Regions from separate parts of the Homo sapiens genome. Here region 2 is linked to region 1. The links are contacts of gene promoters, found by promoter capture Hi-C in blood cells and fetal thymus (Javierre and others, 2016). All regions are on one chromosome and are shown on one strand. Each heading gives the region's core, a stretch centred on a gene start or on the middle of the fragment in contact. The rest is flanking DNA. Distances are from core to core; before and after follow the strand shown.

Region 1 (3,807 bases), core at 1-2,500:
TTCTCCTTTTCAAAGCGAAGGAAACAAACCCAATTCCCTGCAATCAGGAAGCAGAGTCTCCCTTCCCTTAATCATGCTGCACACTCCCCCAGCACCCCGCCCCTGCTCTCACCTTAAAGTCCTCCAGCAAGGACTCCTTTAACAACAAGTTGTCCAGCTGATCCTTCATTTGCTGCAGGAAGAACAAAAGGAGAATGAACTTGAGGTTTGGGGAAATAACTGAAATGCGGTCTTTTTGATGCCCTTTCATTTAGAGATTTTTTTTTTTAAATAAAATTGGCTCTGGCCCAAAAAAATCAAAAGGGGAGTTTTAAAAACAGAGGATTCAACAGTGATGGGACCATCACTTAAATCAGGTCCTCCTCCTCAGAGTCAAGTTATTTAAAAAATCTGGCCGATTTTGAAGGGAAAGCAGAAGCTTGACTCAGTCCTGGTCTTCTTTCTGCGGAGCTACATTCGGCTTTAAGGGACACCTATGTCAACCCTTCGGGGCCTTGAGCCCCCCTCATGTCCTGTTCTCTGCTTTTCTTTCTCCCCACTGTAGACATCCAGTTTAGCTTGGAAAGATCCCAGGGATTAAGAAGCTCCTTCTAATGCAGGTTTCCCTCATGTAGAGTGCTTCCCTAAACCACTGGTCTTTCAGGTCTGGAAACGCTCTAAGCAGAGGCAATTTAAATTTCCCTGCTGCAAGGCATGGGGAGCATCTTCACCTCGAATCAGACATTTCTTTACTTCTCCTAGCCAATAAAGTATAGAGCGCCAGCAGGATCTTATAAGTTTCTCAGCACGAGAGAGAACGCATTTACTTTATAAGGCAGGTTTCCTGCACATTTACTGTATCATCTGGCTTAGCTTAACTCACCAAACCCATGGCTTGATCTAGGATTCTCTTAAGAATTTAAGTTTGGGGGAATAGGTGTTGGGGATGGAGGTGGAGGCGCAGGAGGAGGGTTCTTATAGTTCCAGGAGAATGTCTAGTTCAGGCAGTCCCAGGAAGAGAGAAAGGACAGGAAGGAATCATACTCACAAAGAAAGTCTTCACTCTGCTGAAGGCATCTCGGAGATCTCGAAGCATGTTAGGCAGGTTGCCTGGGAAGTGGGTGCAGCTGTTCTCAGACTGGGTGCCCTGGCCTGGGCTGGCCCTCACCCCAGTCAGGAGGACCAGGCAACAGAGCAGTGCTGAGCTGTGCATGCCTTCTTTTGCAAGTCTGTCTTGTGGTTTGGTTTTGCAAGAGCAAGCCCCTGATGTGTAGACCTTCACCTCTCTGTCCCCCTTTTATATTGTAAGCTCAGGGAGGCCTCTTCATTCATTAAAAAGCCACAATCAAGGTTTCCCGGCACAGGATTTTTTCTGCTTAGAGCTCCTCCTTCTCTAACCTCTCTAATAAACTTAGTTTTCAATTTTTGCATCGTAAGCAAAAATGATTGGTTGAACATGAACTTCTGCATTACAGCTATTTTTAGGATGGGCTACCTCTCTTAGAATAATTTTTTAGCTTCTCAATTAAAAAAAGTTGATTTCCTGGGGAGAACAGCTGTTCTGTGCGCAGAGGCCCTCAGCTGTGGGTTCTCATTCGCGTGTTCCTAGGTCACAGTGACGTGGACAAATTGCCCATTCCAGAATACAATGGGATTGAGAAATAATTGGGTCCCCCCAACCTGGGATGAATACCCAAGACTTCTCCTTGCTAACTTAGGCAGTCACCTTAGGTCTCTGGGCCTTAGTTTCCCCAAGTAAAAATGAGGGGGTGGGCTAAATATCCTCAAAGTTCCCAAGCAGCCCTTCCATTTTACTTTCCAGAGACTGGCTTCCTACAGTACAGGCGGGGTCACAGGATGTGTTCCAGGCTCCTTTACCCCGATTTCATTAGGATTCTCAGGCACATGTTTCCACCTCTTCAGCTGTCCCCCACCCCAACTGTGCTTGGGGGAAGTGGGTAAGAGTAGTCTGCACTTGCTGAAAGCTTCTTATATGCTAGTCAGGTAGTGCTCACCATGACCCCTACCGTCTCTATTTTATAGTGAGCAAACTGAGGCACAGAGATATTACATCACCTGTACAAGGGTACACCAGTGCCAACTGAGAATTTGGTTTCCTCACCCTACTGTACACCATCTCCAGCACATAGAATGAAACCTTGGATTAAATTGGCCTTAGAGTTTCTTTTAGTTGTAAGCTTCTGTGGCTGGAGTCTAAAGTTTAAAAGATGGGGTGGAAGAAGTTGAAATAACAAGGAAAAGAAGTCAGGATTCCATGGAGGCTGGATAGGAGGTCCCTTACTTTCCTCTTACCTATCCCTACTTCCCCTTCCCAAAGAAGCCTTAGTAGTGTTGTCTTGGATTTGTGTGTGTGTGTGTGTGTGTGTGTGTGTGTGTGTGTGTGTGTGTAGAAGGTAAGGGGAGCCAGTTGGGTTGCGGCGAGGAGTGTTGCTCTACCTGGGGAAGGACCGGGGCAGTGACATCAGGACTTCTTCAGATATCTGGAAAGTCTCTGGGGATCCTTTGATTGAGCCTTCACCTTCCCCTTCCACAGGGGCTTTGCCTGCCATTCCAGTTTAGACTGTAACTGGGAGGAACACTGACCTAGGTGCAGGAGGCCTGGGCTCTGCCTTGGCCCTGCCACTCTATAGTCAGGGCAAATCACTCATCCTCCCTGTGTCTGTTTTTCATCTGTCCCAACAGGGCAATAGCACCTGTCCTCCTGCCTGCCAGGGAGCATTGAGCTTAAGTAGCCATGGACCCAGATGGAGGGCATTTCCAGTGTTCTGCTAGTTCTTCACCTTTCTGCATCAGCAATGGGACAACTCCAGTGGCAGCAGGTTCTGAGCTTGCTGCACTAGAGAAGGTCACTCACTGCAAGGGGTGCAAACACCTTGGGGCCCAGCCAGCGTGAAGTGAGTGGGAGGGAGGGATGAGAGGGCCCACGCCCACCCTGTGGATGTCCCTGCTGTGTGACCTATGGATCAGGGTCAGGGGACTGTGGTGTCTCTTCCCAACTCTTCAGGGAGTGTCAATGTAGAAACCTAAGAATCAGGAAGTGAGAAAGAGCCTGCTAGAAACTAGTATGGAGCTAACTCAGAACTTACTGGTCCTGCCAGACTTAGACTGGCTTAAGGGTTCTGTCTGAGTTCTGCTGCCAGGAAGCAGAGAGAAGGGGACCAGGACCTGGGTTTCCCCTTCTTGCACCTTTCTCCTTCCCCCTCGGCTCCTGGGTTTTCTGGGCTGTGTCTGTGTTAGCCTGCAGGTCTAACCCCCTCTCTGAGCTGGGTGTTCCAGAAGTGGACTCAGCATGGGCACCAGGCAGGCCAGGGGTTCTGGACTCTGGGTGAGGCTGTGAACCCCTCCTTCCTTTGTTTCCCATCTTGCCTTGTGCTTACCTCACTAGGAAACCTGCAACCCTACGTGGTTATCATTCATGTACACACCATGCCCTGCCGAATCAGCTTTGAGCTCCCTGAAACAGGACATTGTTTTATTAATCTTTGCGTACTTGGTACTTAGCACCAAGTCTGGCCCTTGGAAGGTATCAGCTATACTTGGGATGGGCATAGAAGAGTGCCCTGTAAGCCTGGAGGGTGCGAGGCTAAGGAGGTGGTCTGGGCACAGGTAAGCATTCAGAAGGAGAGGGAGAGTGACTCAGGGATGCAGGCAGCCTCCCTTCAATTTCCTTATATGAGATGTGTGTGTAAATACACACACACACACATACAAAATGTCAGGGAGAAGGGAGGTATGTAAAAGCCATTTGTACCTTTCTTTCATCTATAATCTGTTAAATAGGGTTGAGGTTAGGATCTGACTTCTTTT
Region 2 (6,273 bases), core at 2,345-4,844, 710 kb after region 1:
GCATGGCTTTTAAAACATTTGAGCAGTAATGTTAGAGAAATAGAAGTCATGCGAAAAGAGGAATGACCACGTCCATCCATTCTTTTCTTATACAACAATGGCTGAGTGCCTACTATGCCTTAGCACTATACTAGGCTAGAATCACAAAGCCTAGTAGCATATGGCCTCTGTCATCAAGGAGGTCACAGCCTGGTAAAGGAGGACAAGCATGTCGCTAAACAAGTACCATAAAATAACGTCGCCATGGTGGATTATATGATATTTGGTGAGGATGCAAAGCAAATGGTCAATATTTGGGAGTTTTAATCAGGAAAAGTTTCAGCGTGGAAGAGATGTTTCAGGTGAGCCTCAAGAGAGTGTAGACAAGAAGAGAAAGGCATTCCAGACAGAAAGAGCAGTTTGAATAAAGGCCCAGAGGCTTGGCTTTCCATCATGTGTTGTGAGAACTACATAACCCATTTGAAATGGCTGGGAAATAGTGTGTGTGTGATGGTGATTGAAGGCGAAAGTGGCATAGCTTTAGGTGGAGACATGCCATTAAAGAAAAAAAAAAAAAACCCTGACACGTAAATCTTGTGGAAGCTACAGAATACTAATATGTGCAAAGGATACATTTTTAACAAAGCATACCGTCAGGTGTTGGCCTCGGATGTTATGTGTGCATAGGTTCGTGAGTCTTTGTACATGCTAGTGTTAGGGCGGATAATCCAATGAAGTCTTACCAACTCTCAGGTAGCTCCGAGTGGGGAGATGACCAAGTCATGCCACCTAAAACATGTCACCAAAAAGCTCCAGCAAAATTTCTTTCACGTGCCAAGTCCCCTGCATCTATCATTTACCCTGCCACCAGTGCCATCTGATGCCATGGCTCAGTTATGTAATTCCTAGAATAGGCTCAGACATGAAGGGGTTGCACTGAAACTATGTACTGAGGGTATCTACGAACCTGGGCAGTTTGTTCTAGGCTGGAGGCGGGAGGGTGAGGGCTGCCTATGGGGTTCTGGCTGTCCTGTACAGTTAGCGTGTACTTAGAGTGTAGAGTTTACCAGAGTGTGTACCACACAACCCTGCTTTCATGAATGACTTCAGAAAAAAAGGGTGTTCTATGGCAAATAAGATTTGGACATACTGCACACTGTTTTTTTTTCTTGTGGAGAATCACAAGGACCATGAGAATATTTAATAAGAGGTTTTTTGCTATCAAGAGGACAGGATTTCCAGGACTTGGTGACATGCTGGATGTGGGGAGAAGGAGGCACATAGAATGGCTCACATGAAGGCGATGAGGTGGACCCCCTGACTCACTAAAAGAGGAGAGGGGCAGGATTTGTGGGGGAAGATGAGGAGTTCGGTTCTGACCTGGTACTTTGAGGTACTCATGATTTAGGGCTTGGGAGAAGGGTCTGGACTCGGGTGGGTGACACTTAAATCACAATGAAAGCTGTGGAACCAAAAAGAACAGAACAGATAAAAATTGGGATGAGAACAGCCCTCAGAAGAACAGTAATGTTCAAAAGGCAGAAAGTGAAGGAAGAGAGGCAGGGGGAAAACTAGCAGAGAGTAGCGTCACAGAATTCAAGGAGAAAAGGGTCTCAAAAAAAATTAGGGATGTCATTTGCAGGGCCTTCCTCATAGGAAGTCACAAGATAATTTCAGCCAAGAGGCATTAGAAATGTAAATACATAGAAAATACAGTCTCTATCTCTTTCCTTCATGCTACTGAGTTTGCTATCAGAGCACTGCATGTGTATAAAAATTTGCAAATTTGGGGAATGCTTACAAGTGCAAATAATTTATAATATTCCAGTCTAATTATTGTTTATTAATATGATTATATCATGTACTATACTTAAGTGCCTCAACTGATATGAAGCAAACATACCTGTTTAACCAGATTCCTAGTTGCCATTCATTTATTTCCATTTGCTAACCCACTTCAATTGATTTTCCAATAATTGATAAAGACACTTGAATGGCCTGAAATGCTTTTTTAAATGAGATGAGTAATCATTTAAAAATGAATGTCTAGTGACAATATTAAATATTTTGAAAAGCCATCTAAACACTTGAAAGACACTATGCTATTCTTTTCTAGTCATCTAAGATATTGTAACAAAGCTTAAATCTCACATTGACCTAAAAATTACTGTTTTATAATCTTCTTAACATATCTCCTGTACACGGAACTCTTCAATATTCTAGTGAGTGACATGCTGTCAGTGTCTTTAGCAGTATTCTTTCTTCCCCAGTAATTTTGTATTATGTTATTTTAGAGCTTTACATGGTAGTATAATCACATTTTATTGTCTTTTAGTAATTCTGGCAAAGTGGTTTTAGAAGCACAATGAAATATGTGTACTTTCAAAGAAGGAAAGTAAAAACATTCTCTTCAAACTCGTTTAAAGCTTTTAAGTCAGACTAGAACATTGAGTCCCAAAAGGGTAAAGTTATGATCTAAAATAAGAACTTATTTTTGCTTCTTTTCTTCAATTTGGAAGTTGTAGTTGTTAGTCATTAAGCGTCCTGGATCCTAGGGTAAAGCTGCTTAGTGTCAGCCTCTGACTTGAACACTTACAAGCCTAGATCATTCATTTTTTATGTGCCTTTCCAAAAAATGGAGTTACAGTGTTTACACTTCATAGGATAAAAACAATAAAAATGAAATCATCACAGAAAACCAAACACCGTATGTTCTCACTTGTAAATGAAAGTTGAACAATGAGAACATGTGGGCACAGGGAGGGAAACATCATACACTGGGACCTTTCACAGGGTTGGGGGTTAGGGGAGGGATAGTATTAGGAGAAATACCTAATGTAGATGACGGGTTGTTGGGTGCAGCAAACCACCGTGGCACATGTATACCTATGTAACAAACCTGCACATTCTGCACATGTATCCCAGAACTTAAAGTATAATTTAAAAAAATGAAATCATCCACAAAAGTACTTACCATGTGTTGGGAATTATGGAAAGCAAACAACTGCTACATTGAAACATGGTCAATGAGTAAAGATATTACATTTTTCTTTCTTCTTCTGTTTAGCAATTATTATACAGATACAAGCCAGAAAGAAGCTTTTCATTTAGAAGCACGAGAAGTATATTCTGTTGATCCATACAACCCAGCCAGCTGATCAGAAGACAAACTGGTGGTATGTAATGAAATGGAATATTATTAATTTACATATAAAATTTCCTTCAACTTGTATTTATCAATAAGCGTAGCATTCACGGTGTATATACATGCTTCTTACTATTGCACAAGTCTTCAGTAATCATGCATAGCAATTGTTCATTTACCTACTTCATTTTGCCAACTAATGTTCCAATTTTTTAATCCATTCATCCATTCAACAAATATTAAACTAAATAGCAAAACAACTAAGAATAAAATCAATAAGATGATAAGCATTATATAGAGACATAATAAAGCAGGCAAGGGGGATAAAGAGAACAGGGTGGTCGCAAGGGAAGCTCTTACTAAGAGAATGTCATTTGAGAAAAAACTCAAGGGAAGTAAAGAGCCAGGGCCGGCCTTGGTGGCTCACGCCTGTAATCCCAGCACTTTGGGAGGCTGAGGCAGGCAGATCATTTGAGGTCAAGAGTTCGAGACCACTCTGTTCAACATGGTAAAACCCTGTCTCTACTAAAAATACAAAAATTAGCCAAGCGTGGTGGTGTGCACCTGTGGTCCCAGCTACTCGGGAGGCTGAGGCAGGAGAATCACTTGAGCCTAGGAGGCGGAGGTTGCAGTGAGCCAAGACTGCGCCACTGTACCCCAGCCTGGACAACAGAGCAAGACTGCATCTCAAAAAAAAAAAAAAAAAAAAAAAAAAGCCAGCCATGTGGCCATATGAGGGAGGAGGATTCCAGAAAGAACAGTAGGTGCAAAGGCCATAAGGCAGTGTGTGCCAGCTGTGTTGGCGGCACAGCAAGGAGGCCAGTGTGGCCTACAGTTGTAGAGATGAAGTCACAGAGATGGGGGTGGGATGTGGGCGAGAGGATGATCGTACAAAGTCTGCTATGTCATTGTAATGGGATGGTGGGCAGGAGAGGATGATTGTATAAAGTGTGCTAGGTCATGGTAAAGAGATTGGTTTTTATTTGGAAGCTTTTAAGGAGAGGAGCAACACATTCACCTTAACTGCTGTGTTAAGAACAGACTGTAGGAAGCCATGGGTGGAAGATGGGAGTCAATGAGGAGGCTGCTGCAATCATCCAGGCAAGAAATTGTCAGTGGCTACCACCAGGTTGTAAGAAGAGGCCAGATTCTGCATGCAATTTTAAGACAGTGACAGTAGGATTCGTGGATAGTTTGTATCAGAATATGAGAGGAAGAGAGCTGTCAATAATGACACGAGGGCTTTTGCCTAAGCAACTGGAAGGATAGAACTGCCATTAATTACATGATTGAGATTGCAAAGAGCAGGACTGGGGAGAAAAATCAGGAGTTCCACTGTGGAGATGTTAAATGTGGATGTCTAATAGACTTGGCAAGAAGACAGCTGATGTACAAGTCTGTATTTTGGGCAATTGGTCCAGGCTGGAGATAAAAATTTGGGCTTTGTCATCATGTGGTTGTACATAACAAGGAGACTGAATAAGATCTCCGAGAAGTGAAAGAGGCTAGCAAAAAGAAAAGGTCCAAGTACTGAGCCCTGGATCCTCCAACATTAGAAGTCATGGAGTGAGAAGGCACCCACTAAGAAGTGAAGGAGCAGCCTCTGATACTATCCAGAGAAGAACCTTAAAGTCAGGCAAAGAAAGAATTTTAGGGAGGAGGGAGTGATCAACTCTGTCCAGTGTTGCTGGTAGGCCAAAAAAATGAGCCCTGAAAACTGACCATTGAAATTCAGTAGCACAATTTTTTTGCTGTTGTTGTTTGAGACAGGGTCTCACTCTGTCGCCCAGGCTGGAGTGCAGTGGTGTGATCTCAGCTCACTGCAGCCTCTACTTCCTAGGTTCAAGTGATTCTCATGCCTCAGTCTCCTGAGTAGCTGGGATTATAGGCAAGCAGCACAAAATTTGCTGCTGAACTTGACAAGACAGTTTTTGAAGAGAGGAAGGAGGCAGGAGCCTGACTGGACGGAGCTTAAGAGAGAATGAAAGGAGAGAAATTGCAGCTATCAAATACAGACAACTCTTTCTAGGTTTTTTTCTATAAAAAGGAGCAAATAAGTAAAGTGCTAGTAAGAGTAAAACATAAAGTCAACAGAAATATTTTTTAAGATTGGAGAAATAGCAGTTATGCCCTATTCCTACATGATGATGGGAATAATTTAGTAGAAAGGGAAAGAGTGATGGCAGAAAGAGAGAGAAGAATTGCTCGAACAAGGTCTGGGTAAGCTAGGAGGAACAGATTAAGCAGAGGAGCTCCTAGCTGCGTGGGCTTAGTAACAGGAGGGAGGGCAGAATCTGCAGGTGCAGATGAAGGCAGGTTGGGAGCTGTGATGGGGAGTGAACGTGTGGAAGTTCTCTTCCGATGATTCAGTCTTCTCAGTGAATAGAAAGCAAATTATTCAGGTGAGAGTGAGGCTCAGAAAGGAGGTATTAGAGAGTTAAGAAGAAAAAGGAAGGCATTAAATCATCAACTAAGAACTGAAGACTGAATTATAGGGAGTACAGAAAGGCCGACAGGCCACATGAGATGTGCACCTGAGTTTCCCATGAGAAAGTGGGGATGAACATTTGAAGGTTTACTCTGTCCGGGGATTATGTGACAGTCTTTCATGCCTTCTCTTACTTAGCCATCAGTACCACTTTGAAAGGTGGGTGTTCTCCCAAGATAATATCAAGATGAAGAAATAATATCCAAGAAAACCTTGGGCAAGGTCTCAGGGTCAATCATTGGCAAAGGTGGAATGCAAGCTCATGCCTGAGTTTAAACTGCTTTCTCCTACATAATCTAGAAAATAAAGATACCAGCCAGGAGTGGTGGCTCACGTCTGTAAACCCAGCACTTTGGGAGGCCAAGGCAGGCAGATCACGAGTTCAGGAGATCGAGAACATCTTGGCCAACATGGTGAAACCCCGTCTCTACTAAAAATACAAAAATTAGCTGGGTTTGATGGCACGTGCCTGTAATCCCAGCTACTCGGGAGGCTGAGGCAGGAGAATTGCTTGAACCAGGGAGTTGGAGGTTGCAGTGAGCTGAGATCACGCCACTGCACTCCAGCCTGCTGACAGAGCGAGACTCCATCTCAAAATAAAATAAAATAAAAAATATACCACCTCTGTCCTCTTGGAACTTATTTTAATAAGATAAATAAG

The links. Contacts are between HindIII fragments. The CHiCAGO score rates a contact against its expected background, and 5 or more counts as called.
Region 2: a fragment that was not itself captured here is called in contact with the fragment with the promoter of IL10 in region 1 in 1 of 17 cell types (endothelial precursors); the score reaches 6.8 in endothelial precursors.

What each region holds. Positions count from the first base shown.
Region 1 is chr1:206,771,244-206,775,050 of GRCh38, forward strand. IL10 (interleukin 10) reads right to left here and starts at 1,251. Exons shown (of 5, transcript NM_000572.3): 1 at 1,028-1,251; 2 at 113-172. The coding sequence starts at 1,192. The region is part of intron 1 of IL19 (interleukin 19); the gene reads left to right. RefSeq lists cis regulatory regions at 880-1,501, 962-1,501. The HindIII fragment of the contact is 1,546 bases long and covers 417-1,962 here.
Region 2 is chr1:207,482,418-207,488,690 of GRCh38, forward strand. It overlaps CR2 (complement C3d receptor 2), which reads left to right. Exons shown (of 20, transcript NM_001006658.3): 19 at 3,047-3,155. The coding sequence ends at 3,137. Among named protein-coding and RNA genes, the nearest start is that of CR1, 11 kb to the right of the region's middle. The HindIII fragment of the contact is 1,036 bases long and covers 3,077-4,112 here.